2 separate regions of the Homo sapiens genome follow, and region 1 is linked to region 2. Evidence: promoter capture Hi-C in human tissues and cell types (Jung and others, 2019). All regions are on one chromosome and are shown on one strand. The core of a region is centred on a gene start or on the middle of the fragment in contact, and the rest is flanking DNA. Distances in the headings are between cores, read along the strand shown.

Region 1 (6,011 bases), core at 410-2,909, 40 kb before region 2:
ACAGCATGATGTGTATGTATACATTGTGGAATGGCTAAATCAAGCTAATTAGCATATGCATTACCTCACATTCTTATTTTTGGGGGGGTGAGACAATTTTGAATATAATAATGGCGGTACTTAAAATTATAGAGAAAGGCTGGGCGCAGTGGCTCACACCCGTAATCCCAGCACTTTGGGAGGTCGAGGCGGGTGGATCACCTGAGGTCAGGAGTTCAAGACCAGCCTGGCCAACATGGTGAAACCCCATCTCTACTAAAGATACAAAAATTAGCTGGGCATGGTTGCGGGCGCCTGTAATCCCAGCTACTCGGGAGGCTGAGGCAGGAGAATCGCTTGAATCCAGGAGGTGGAGGTTGCAGTGAACCGAGATCATGCTATTGTACTCCAGCCTGGGCGACAAGAGCAGCCTGGGCGACAAGAGCAAGACTCCATCTCCAAAAATATATATATATACACATAGAGAGAAACGTTATAGTGAAAAAAGGGGCCCGTTACAGCGGCTCATCCCCATAATCCCAGCATTTGGGTGGCTGAGGCCAGCGGATCACTTGAGCTCAGGAGTTCAAGACCAGCCTGGGCGACATAGCAAAACCCTGTCTCTACAAAAAATACAAAAATTAGCCGGGCATGGTGGCACACTTGTAGTGCCAGCTACTGGAGAGGTTGAGGTAGGAGGATGGCTTAAGCCCAGGAGGTGGAAGTTACAGTGAGCTGAGATCATGCCACTGCACTCCAGCCTGGGCAACAAGAGCCAGACCCAGCCTCAAAAAAAAAAAAAAAACAATTAGAAAAAAGGGAACACTTACACATTCTTGGTGGGATTGTAAATTAGTACAGCCACTATGGAAAACAGTATGGAATTTCCTCACATTAAAAATAGAACTACCATATGATCCAGCAATCCTATTACTTGGTATCTCTACAGAGGAAATAAAATCTGTAGAGATACCTGTACTCTCATATTTGTTGCAGCACTATTTACAATAGCCAAGATATGAAATCAACTGAAGTGGCCAACATGGCTGCATGGATAAAGAAAATGGGGTATATATACAGAATGAAATACTATTCGGCCATAAAAAAAATGAAACCCTGTCATTTGCAACAACATGGATGGACCTGGAGGACATCATGTTAAGTGAAATAAGCCAGACACAGAAAGACAGACACCACACGATCTCACTCATATGTAGAATATTTAAAAAATAATACAGAAGCAGAGAGTAGACCAGTGTTGTCTGACTGAGAAGAGGGACAGGGTGGAAAAGGGAGGTTGAGGAGAGGTTGGTCAGTGGATATAAAGTTACAAATAGATGGTAGTAATAAGTTCCTGTGGTTTTTTTTTTTTTTTTTTTTTTTTTTTTGAGAAGGAGTTTTGCTCTTGTTGCCCAGGCTGTAGTGCAATGGCGCTATCTCAGCTCACTGCAAGCTCTGCCTCCCGGGTTCAAGCGATTCTCCTGCCCCAGCCTCCTGAGTAGCTGGGATTACAGGCATGCACAACCACACCTGACTAATTTTTGTGTTTTTAGTAGAGACGAGGTTTCTCCATGTTGGTCAGGCTGGTCTCGAGCTCCCAGCTTCAGGTGATCCGCCCGCCTCGGCCTCCCAAAGTGCTGGGATTACAGGCGTGAGCCACCGTACCCAGCCTAAGTTCTCGTGTTCTATGGCACACTGGGGTGATGATGGTTAACGGTAAGGTGTAGTATTTTACAAAATAGCTAGAAAAGAGGCTTCTGTGTATTCTCACCACAGTGAAATAATAAGGGCATCAGGTGATGGATATGCCTAATACACTGATTTGGTCATTATACAACATAGTATATATGTACCGAGACATCAACATCAAACTGCTTCATAAATATGAAGCAATGACAATGGGTCAATAAAAATAAAATAATAAAGAAATGTATTATTATTATTATTATTATTATTATTATTATTATTTTTAGACAGAGTCTCACTGTGTTGCCCAGGCTGGAGTGTAGTGGCACAATCTCGGTTCACTGCAACCTCTTTCTCCTGAGTTCAAGTGATTCTCATGCCTCAGCCTCCTAGCAGCTAGGATTACAGGCACGTGCTACCACACCCGGCTAATTTTTGTATTTTTAGTAGAGACAGGGTTTCACCATATTGGCCAGGCTGGTCTCGAACTCCTGGCCTCAAGTGATCCATCTACCTTGGCCTCCCAGAGTCCTAGGATTACTGGTGTGAGCCACCGCACCCAGCCAAGAAATGTATAAAAATGAAGTGTATATGTTAATGGAATTCTTTACTTTTCAGATTTCTATATTAATTTTAACATTTGTATGTCTATTTTATGTACCTTATCTTTAAACAAAGCCTCAGAGAAAGTCATCCCCCATTGACCATTCTCAGTGATCCCACACCCCCAAACTCCTCTTCCCCAAATAATCTAAGTCCCCAGTGTTCAGCCTATGACTTGCTCAGATCCTTATAGATCTGTTTATTTTCTTTTATGAAGACAATACCACCTCATGTCCCAAGTTGTTGTTATTCTCTCCTTAATAATCCAGTTTACCAAAATAGAGATAAATAATGTGTAAAGAATTTAGGATATAGTAGGCACTCGGGGTTACTGCAAGATAGTTTCCCTCCCACTCCTTTTATTTGCATACCTCTCTCTCTCTTTCAGGAGATTAGCAGAGGCATTTCATATCAGTGAGGATTCTGATCCTTTCAATATACGTTCTTCAGGGTCAAAATTCAGTGATAGTTTGAAAGAAGATGCCAGGTATGTAACTTGTTACCTGCTTTCTTAATTGTGGCTTGTCAGGGTGTTTGGTCTTTTGAGATGTCATAACTAATATGTACTCCTCCTGTGATTAAGCCAGTTCAAGTTTGTTTGTTTATCTATTGTAAGAGATTATGTGCTGTTTAATAAATATCCTTCTCTTGGTTTCTCGAAACTGTCCCCTTAAAGAACTGAACTTGGGGTAGGGTTGAGATAAGAGTTTGGGTGGGGTGGTGGTAAGAGTTTGGGCCTCCCAAGGGCTGGACTAGACTAAATTGGAGGATCTCTGGGCTTCATTCCACTTCTGTCCACCCCAGTCTCACATTCACATGCGTTCTCAGTTGGAGCTATAACAGCTCTTATTTTTCTCCTGGAGTCCCTGGCCTTTCAGTGGCTACTTCTCCTTTCATCTTCTCATTTCTTATATTTTTCTCTTTTGTTCTTCCGTCAGTCATCCTTCTGTTTTCTGACAATTCCTGATCTCTGCAGTTTTACTGCCAGCATTGTCTATTGTCTACGCTTTACAGGGAGAGGATGGGTGAAAGGGGTTCTCAGAAGGGCAGGGACAGACAAAATTAACTGGTGATTTCTCATTTCAGGAAGGACTTAAAGTTTGTCAGTGACGTTGAGAAGGAAATGGAAACCCTCGTGGAGGCCGTGAATAAGGTTGAAGTCGAAACATCCCACTGGACATTTCTCTAAGGCCAGCTTGATGAAAAAAAAAAAGCAATCAAGTCCTGGAAACACTTTCAACCTAGAGTAGTTGTAGGAAAAAGTCACAACTTCTTTGAGGATCCTTATCTTTCTCAAAACACAGCCATTATAACATCTGTGGAAGCCTGTCCTGGTTCAGGACAGTTGACTGCAGAAAAGATCTACAGTCGGCTGGGCACAGTGTCTCATGCCTGTAATGCCAGCACTTTGGGAGGCCAAGGCAGGCAGATCACTTGAGGTCAGGAGTTCTAGATCAGCTTGGCCAACATGACGAAACCCTGTCTCTACTAAAAATATAAAAATTAGCTGGGTGTGGTGGCGGGCACCTGTTATTCCAGCTACTTGCAAGGCTTAGGCAGGAGAATTCCTTGAACCCGGGAGGCAGAGGTTGCTGTGAGCTGAGATTCTGCCACTGCACTCCAGCCTGGGCAACAAGAGTGAAACTCTGTCTCAAAAAGAAAGAAAGAAAGAAAGAAAGCTCTGCAGTCAGCTGTAAGTAAATGCCAGGCACGGTGGCTCACACCTGTAATCCCAGCGCTTTGGGAGGCTGAGGCAGCAGGCGGATCACTTGAGTCCAGGAGTTCACGACCAGCCTGGGCAACGTGGCAAAACCCTGTCTCTACAAAAAATAAAAAATTAGCCAGGTGTGGTGGTGCACACCCATAATCCCAGCTACTCAGGGGGCTGAGGCAGGAGGATTGCTTAAGCCCAGGAGGTCAAGCCTGCAGTAAGCTGAGGTTGAGTCACTGTACTCCAGCTTGGATCTCCAGCTTGAGATCCTGTCTCAATAAAAAAGAAAGAAAGAAAAAGAAAATAAAGATGCTGGCCAAGTGCCTAAGAATGGATGAAGAAACTCTGGGTGAGGGGGCTCAATAGTGATAGTTGAGTGACTGTGTGGGACACTTAGGAAGACACTCTAGCCCCTCAGATCTTTGAAGGGCTATTGTATGCTAGGAAAGCCCACTGTTCTTTATAATTCCAAAGGCAGGAATGTCCCCTTTGGGAAGGATGAAAGTTGTATGACTACAGCTGGAGAGCAGTGGGATAGACTCCTTCAGAAGAGGGAGACCCCTGTCCTGGAGGCGGCCAGGGATGTCACGGAGGTAGCTTTAAGTGGAAAAGTCTTGAGTTTAGTCAGAAGCCCCCAGCGCTGCATTGGCTTCCTCCCCCTTCCATCAGGGGGGACGGTGAGTAAGGACAAGATGGTTGCTTTAGCCCCTGTATCTAATGCTGGTGGTTTTCCTTCCCAGTCTCCTTACCCTCTTCCCATTCCCCTCCTTTCCTCCCTTCTGTTACCACTTCCCAGCAGAATATTAACATGAAGGAGAAAATGGAATGCATTATTCCTCTCCTAATTAAGAAACCCCAACAGATGTGTTTCTCTGCTTGTGTGTCTGTATCTGAATACTCACGATTTTTAAAGTAGAACATACTTTTAAAGGAAATAATATTTTCTTGTTTTGTAAGTCTTTAGTCATTTTTGGGGAATATCACCCACTCCCCAGTTATGGAACCCATCAGGAAGAACCATTATGCTGTCTACCTAAGTCGCAGTTCACTTACCCTTTGTCCCTAACCCTGTCCAGCTGCGACTGTTGTGGCTCACAGAGTAGGTGAAAGAAGTGCATCAGTGCCCATCTTCCCAAACCCCTCCAGGCTTGCTTGGCAGTTAGTAAAATGCTCTATGCTGTGGGCCTCTAAAATCACCTCTTATTGATCCCTGCAATTCTTGTGTGGTAAGATTAGTTGTAAGCATTTTGTTTTCAGAATGATATGATCAATCAGTCATCTTTTCCCTCAATACAGGGAAAGAATAGTAAGAAAAGCCACAGCTTCCCTCCCATGAACAGAGACCACCGCCGGATCATCCATGACTTGGCCCAAGTTTATGGCCTGGAGAGCGTGAGCTATGACAGTGAACCGAAGCGCAATGTGGTGGTCACTGCCATCAGGTAGGTCAATCCCGCCGTCAGAGGAAGAACTCCTAAGCAGGGCAAACTGGACCCAAGAAGCAGGGTCTGTCAATACTTGTCTTTCTTACTACCACTCTCCCTCTTGGAAAAGTAGAAGGAAAATCTGCTTCTCTGGCACTTCCCAGATAATCTAAAGGCCTGAGCCAAAGAGCAAAACCTATGCCTCGACCCACAGGGCAGATGCACTCAAAATGCACAAGTGTCACATCTGCCTACAGTCATAGCAGATGCTGGAAGCAGCATTTCTTCAGGCAAGGGGGCCTGCCCATCATATCTGCTCTTTTCTCCTTCTGTCTCCTGTTCCTCTGTCTGTCCTCTCCTTGGCTCTGTCCTCTTGGCATGGGGAAAACAGAAAGAATGCTGGACTCTGGTTCGAGGCATCCCCTGTGAATGGTGTTTTTGCCATCAGAGGAAACTGAAGCAATAATGTGACCAGGAGGGGACAGGGAGGACCTAGGATCACTCTCAGAACCTGGGAATAGGAAGAACTTGCCAGTGAAGAAAACAAGTCTGACATGAAGCAAGCCACGGGCCTGGCATAGGTGGGTGGAAGGGACAGGGGGTTAAAT
Region 2 (5,439 bases), core at 845-3,344:
GAAGAAAGCAAAGAAAGTCAGTGTGAGGCCAGGTGCAGTGGCTCACACCTGTAATCCCAACCTTTTGGGAGGCCAAGGCGGGTGGATCACCTGAGGTCAGGAGTTCAAGAACAGCCTGGCGAACATGGCGAAACCCCATTTCTACTAAAAATACCAAAATAATAATAATAATAATTAGCTGGGTGTGGTAGTGTGTGCTTGTAATCCTGTAATCACAGCTACTCAGGAGGCTGAGGCAAGAGAATCGCTTGAACCCGGGAGGAGGAGGTTGCAGTGAGCCAAGATCATGCCATTGCACTCCAGCCTGGGCGACAGAACTGGATTCCATCTCGGAAAAAAAAAAAAACCTGAAAAGAAACTCAGTGTGGCTGGAGGAGGGAGAGCAGGGGGCTGGAGTGGGGAGGCCAGAAAGCTAACAAGGCTGGGCCTTGGCCATTGCAAGGACTGGCTCTTGTTCACCCCAAAGACAGCTGAGCCTGAGAGGGTGAGAGGTGCTGAGTGCAGTTGAGTTGAAGGCCACCTGCATGCCTTGACCCTCATCCAAGTATTTCTGAGCCTCCCCTCACCCCAGGACCCAGCCCAGGCAACAGGTGGAAGATGCTCTTCTTCTGGGACCTCAGAGGCGAGTGGGTGGGTGGGGAGGAGGAGGTCGAGTGGGGACAGCTGCCCCAAGGGAGAGGCTGAGGATGGAACAGGGAGGGCACTGAAGTGGGCTGGGTGAAGGACAGGGGGCTGGAGGGTGAGAAGAGGGTGGGGTACTTACCGCCTGTGCCCGGATGCTTGAACCATGTTTTGTCTTTCAGATTTGTAGATGCTGAGGAGCCAAAGAGAGGTCACTAGGGCTGGAGGACACAGAACTTGGCCCCACACTTCCATCAGACCTTGGTCCCCAGGGGAGAAGCCCTGGGGCAGCTCCTGCTAGTGCCACTCCCTTAACCCAGCCAAGGAACAGGGAGGGAGGAGCGGTGCTCAGCCAATGAGGCGACGCCCTGGAGCCCCACCCCACCCATGCTGGCCCCAGGACCCCAGCCCCAGGCCAGACCCTCCAGTGCTCCTGCTGACCTTCCGTGTCTGCAGCCCGGCTTTGGACTGTGGAGATGCCCTCAGCCTCTACTCAGTGGCTCCAGCCTCATATTTGCGTGCTATACCTTTAACCTCAAGTCCTCTTGCTGCTAACTTAAGCTGCGACTGTCCAGGACCTGCACACACACACACATGCACGCATGCACACACACACACACAGAAGGTGAACACACAGGATGAGGCCCTGAAAACTCATTTCACCCGTGTACCTCACCCAAAAATTCCCCTTTGTACTCCTATCTTTATCTCTAACTGACAGCATGAAGGTAGCCCGAAGTCCCCTCACCCTGTCTGTCCTCCTGATTCTCTAGCCCAGTTCCCTCTAGCTCCAGCACAGACTCTTATCTCCAGCCCTGACTGCCGAAACCCTCCAGCCCCAGCTCCAGCCCCTCAGGAGGGGACTGCGTGGGAGGAATGACTCCAGCAAGCCGGCAGCTGACCCGTCTCCTGCCTGCACGCCTCCCGCTGTGGTCCACTGCCGGTGGTCTTCAGCTCTCTCCTCGTCCCACCCCCATGGTCTGCTGACAGCCCAGCTCAGTGCATCCCTGCCATCTCTGCTCTACCGCTGGTCCTCCCAACAACCAACTTACAGGTAAGGAAACTGAGGCCCAGAGAGAGGGTGTATGTGCCTGTGTCACACAGCAACACAGGACTGCACCATAACAAGAAAGCCGGGACTTCCACTCCCAGACGGGGCTCCTTCCCCAAACAATCCCTCAGTCACCTCCTCCCTGTATGGTACCCAGGGAATGGCCCTTCCAGATCTGGGCGCTGAGGAGGCTGCCCCATCCCCACCCTGCCTGGAGCCCCACTCACTCTGCTGAAATGTCTCTGATTCTCAGCCTCCGCCTTGGGGGCTTCTCAGTTACAGCGCATCTTGATCTTGTTCCTCCGTGACTGTCCCTGGCTCAGCTTCCACCCCCAGCTGGGGCTCAGCTATCCCTGTGTCCCCAGTCCAGAGCCTGCCTCTCAGCTCTCCCAGGGCGGCCTCGAGCGCTGCTCCTGCTCCTCCAGGGGAGAGGTCAGTAAGGCAGGGGTTTGGCTGGTGCCACTTGAACCAAGTCCAGATGCACTGCCCAAAATAACATCCCTCGTCCGGCCAGCAGTGCCGTGGAGACCGAGTTCTGAAGCAGGCCTTTGTGAGGTCAGAGGTGGAGCTCTGGGTGGGCACTCTGGGCCTCTCAGTCCCAGAGGAAAGGCCTGTCCTCCAAGCCAATGTGCAGCCTGACTCTGGGGCCAGCGCCTGAGGAAGCCCTCCCTGAGCCCCAGCCCTGGGGAAGGCTGAAGAGGCCTCTGAGCCCCCAGCGCTGGGGAGAGCTGTGCAGAATAGGACTGGAGGTGGAAGTGTTGGAGATTAACAGCCAGGTGGAGGGGACGGGGGAGGCCCTGGGTCAGTCCTCAGGGAACCCCCATTGTGAAGGGGGAAAGGGAAACTCAGGCCCAGTCCTCAGGGGCCCCCAGTCTGAGAGGAAGGAGGACACACGAGCCATATTTGCAGAGAAACACCAGCCTGCGAGAGGAGGTAGAAGCCCAGGCCTGGCCCTCCGAGGGCCCCTAGTCTGAGGAGCAGTCCACCTGTCCTCGGGAAAACACCTCCCTTAGGAAAGGCCAGCAAGGCCCCCGTAAAGGACCCAGAGCTGGATCGGGACATCGGGCTCGGGGCTCAGCGGTGTGGGAGCTCCGGGACCGAGGTGCAGTCAGGAGAGACCCTGGGGGCCAGCAGCAGTCCCAGAGGACTTTTGGAGCCAAGGCCTGACTGGGTCTCAAACAATGGGGCAGGCAGTTTGGGGTTTCAGCAGGTGGCCCAGTGCTGAGACACAAGGGAGGTGTTTCTGGTCTGCAGACACTGAGGACGCTTGCTATGTGGCGTGGTGGACGGTGGGTAAGTCCTGGGAACTTCCGGCACCAGGCTCCATGGGTGGGAAGGGGCATAAGATTCAGTTGTCCAAAGCTCAGGTCTGGGAATGGAACTGTCCTGTAGAGGGTGCCAAAGACCAGGTCTGGAACCTGCATAGCCCCAGTCCCCACCCCTGCACACACCCTCCCACCCCTTCCAGCTTTTTCTGCAGATCTTTCTGCAGGGGTGAGGCAGGGAGAGGAAGGGGTCGGCCACAGTCCCGGGGCTTCCTAGTCAGAAGCCCTCTGTAAGGCACTAACTTCCCTCTGCAGATTCTTTTTTTTTTGAGACGGAGTCCCGCTCCGCCCAGGCTGGAGTGCAGTGGCACAGTCTTGTCTCACCACAATCTCTGCCTCCCAGTTCAAGTGATTCTCCTGCCTCAGCCTCCCAAGTAGCTGGGATTACAGGCATGCACCACCAAGCCCAGCTAGTTTTTTTGGATTTTTAGTAAAGACGGGGTGTCACCATGTTGGTCAGGCTGGTCTCGAACTCCTGACCTCAGGTAATGCACCCGCCTCGGCCTCCCAAAGTGCTGGGATTATAGGTGTGAGCCACTGCGCCCGGCCTCCCTCTGCAGATTCTACGTGGGCTCAAGATTCAGCCTTTCTTCCTCAGGAAGGGAGGGGTGCACGCTTGGAAATGGGAGAGTCCTGCCTTTTTTCCTTTCCCATGTGTGCTCCCAGGGCCGGGATGAGGTCATGTTAGAAGTGGATCTGGGGTCTTGGATGAGGTCAGCACTTGGGCAGAGTTGGAATGGGCTGGTGTCAGGTTGGTGAGGGAGGGAATTGGGATCCATGCTGGGGTCAGAGATCAGGCTCTAAGCTCTTTTACAGGGCTTGACCCTGGGGACTGAGAGGTGGAGAAGACACAGTCCCATCTGTCTCACGGCAGAGACAGGTAAGCAGCAGGTGACTTAGGACACACCAGATAGGCTGGAAGGAATACAGACGGGGCTATCCCAAGCTGGAGGGGTACAAGGGTCTTCCGTTAGAGGTGACGTGGGAACTGAGTTTTCCAAAACGAGCAGGGGGATGGGGCACCGGGGCATTTGAAGCTTGATGGGATTGTGAGAAAACCTGGGAACTGCGAGTGACTTGCAGAGGGCTGCGGAAGTGGGCAGGGATAGACCATGAAGGGCTTTGTCAGCCAGGCCAAGGAGTTCTGACTTTAACCCGAGGGCCTGAGGAGCCTGCAAAGGGTTCTAAACAAAGAGAAGAGCAACAGGGTCAACCTGAGGTCCCTGAGGCCCCAGGGCATCCAGCAGGCAGAGGCGCAGTTGGGCCTGGGCTGGGGAGAGGAGTCTAGCTGGAGAAAGAGAAGAGGAGATATCAGCCCCTGGACATTCAGCACTAGAGTTGCTGGGGCTGCCCAAGAAGCACAGGGAGTGAGGCAAGGGCCAGGGCCAGGATTCTGGGGAAGAAGGATGACGAAGAAGGAGTGGGTGTGGAAGGAGCTGGAAACCCAGACACAGGGCTGCCCAGAGGCTGATGGGAGCCAGTAGGGGGCTGTTGCCCCAGAGTTGGGTGCTGGGAGGGGCTGGCCAGGCAGGTGTTTGCAGACAGCTGCCTGGATGAGCTGGTGGGGATAGAGGGTGGCAACAGCACTGAAGAAGCAGAGGCTGAGGAGGCAGAAAGTTCAACTGCAGAGAGAAGAGAGGCAGCTAAAGGGGCCACCAAGGTGGGAGTTTGGGTCAGAGCTGTGAAGCATGTTAGTCTGCACAGAGCCTGCGGCGGGGGGTCTCTGGGTCTCTGAGCCAGTGGAGATAGTTGGGGGGCAGAGAGGGAGGGGACACCCGGGGTCCTTTCTTCATAGGATGGGCTTGAGTAGAGTTACCAGATAAAATATAAGATGCCCAGTTAAATTTAAATTTCAAAGAAACAATATTTGCCACAACCTTATACCTGGTATACCTTTGGTCTAAACTCAGGCCCTCTTGATGCTTAAACTGTGACTGTCCAGGACCTACACACACACACACACACACACACACACACACACACACACACACACACACAGAGTTTTATTTTTAGCAAATAAAAATATAGCCAGGTGCATTGGCTCACTCCTGTAATCCCAACACTTTGGGAGGCTGAGGTTGGTGGATCACCTGAGATCAGGAGTTCGAGACCAGCCTGGCCAACATGGTGAAACCCCGTCTCTACTAAGAATACAAAAATTAGCCAGGTATGGTGGCAGGTGCCTGTAATCCCAGCTACTCAAGAGGCTGAGACAGGAGAATTACTTGAACCCAGGAGGCAGAGGTTGCAGTGAGCTGAGATGGCACCACTGCACTCCACCATGGGTGATAGAGTAAGACTCTGTCTCAAAATAAATAAATATATAAAAATAAAACAAAATACTTTTTTATTTTATTTTATCTTTTGAGCCAGAGTTTCGCTGTTGTCACCCAGGCTGGAGTGCAGTGGTACAATCTTGGCTCACTGCCACCTCCACTTCCC

The links. Contacts are between HindIII fragments. The study calls those that stand out against the background at their distance.
Region 1: a fragment that was not itself captured here is called in contact with the fragment with the promoter of AQP7 in region 2 in 1 of the 25 tissues and cell types used here (bladder).

Annotation. Positions count from the first base shown.
Region 1 is chr9:33,361,354-33,367,364 of GRCh38, forward strand. It overlaps NFX1 (nuclear transcription factor, X-box binding 1), which reads left to right. Exons shown (of 24, transcript NM_002504.6): 20 at 2,657-2,755; 21 at 3,355-3,421; 22 at 5,276-5,421. Among named protein-coding and RNA genes, the nearest start is that of AQP7, 38 kb to the right of the region's middle. The HindIII fragment of the contact is 9,227 bases long and covers 1-6,011 here.
Region 2 is chr9:33,400,474-33,405,912 of GRCh38, forward strand. AQP7 (aquaporin 7) reads right to left here and starts at 2,095. Exons shown (of 8, transcript NM_001170.3): 1 at 1,900-2,095; 2 at 764-814. The coding sequence starts at 789. It overlaps LOC105376020 (a long non-coding RNA gene), which reads left to right and starts at 1,048. Exons shown (of 3, transcript NR_188543.1): 1 at 1,048-1,349; 2 at 1,435-1,675. RefSeq lists a silencer at 1,018-1,312 and an enhancer at 3,863-4,420. The HindIII fragment of the contact is 13,402 bases long and covers 1-5,439 here.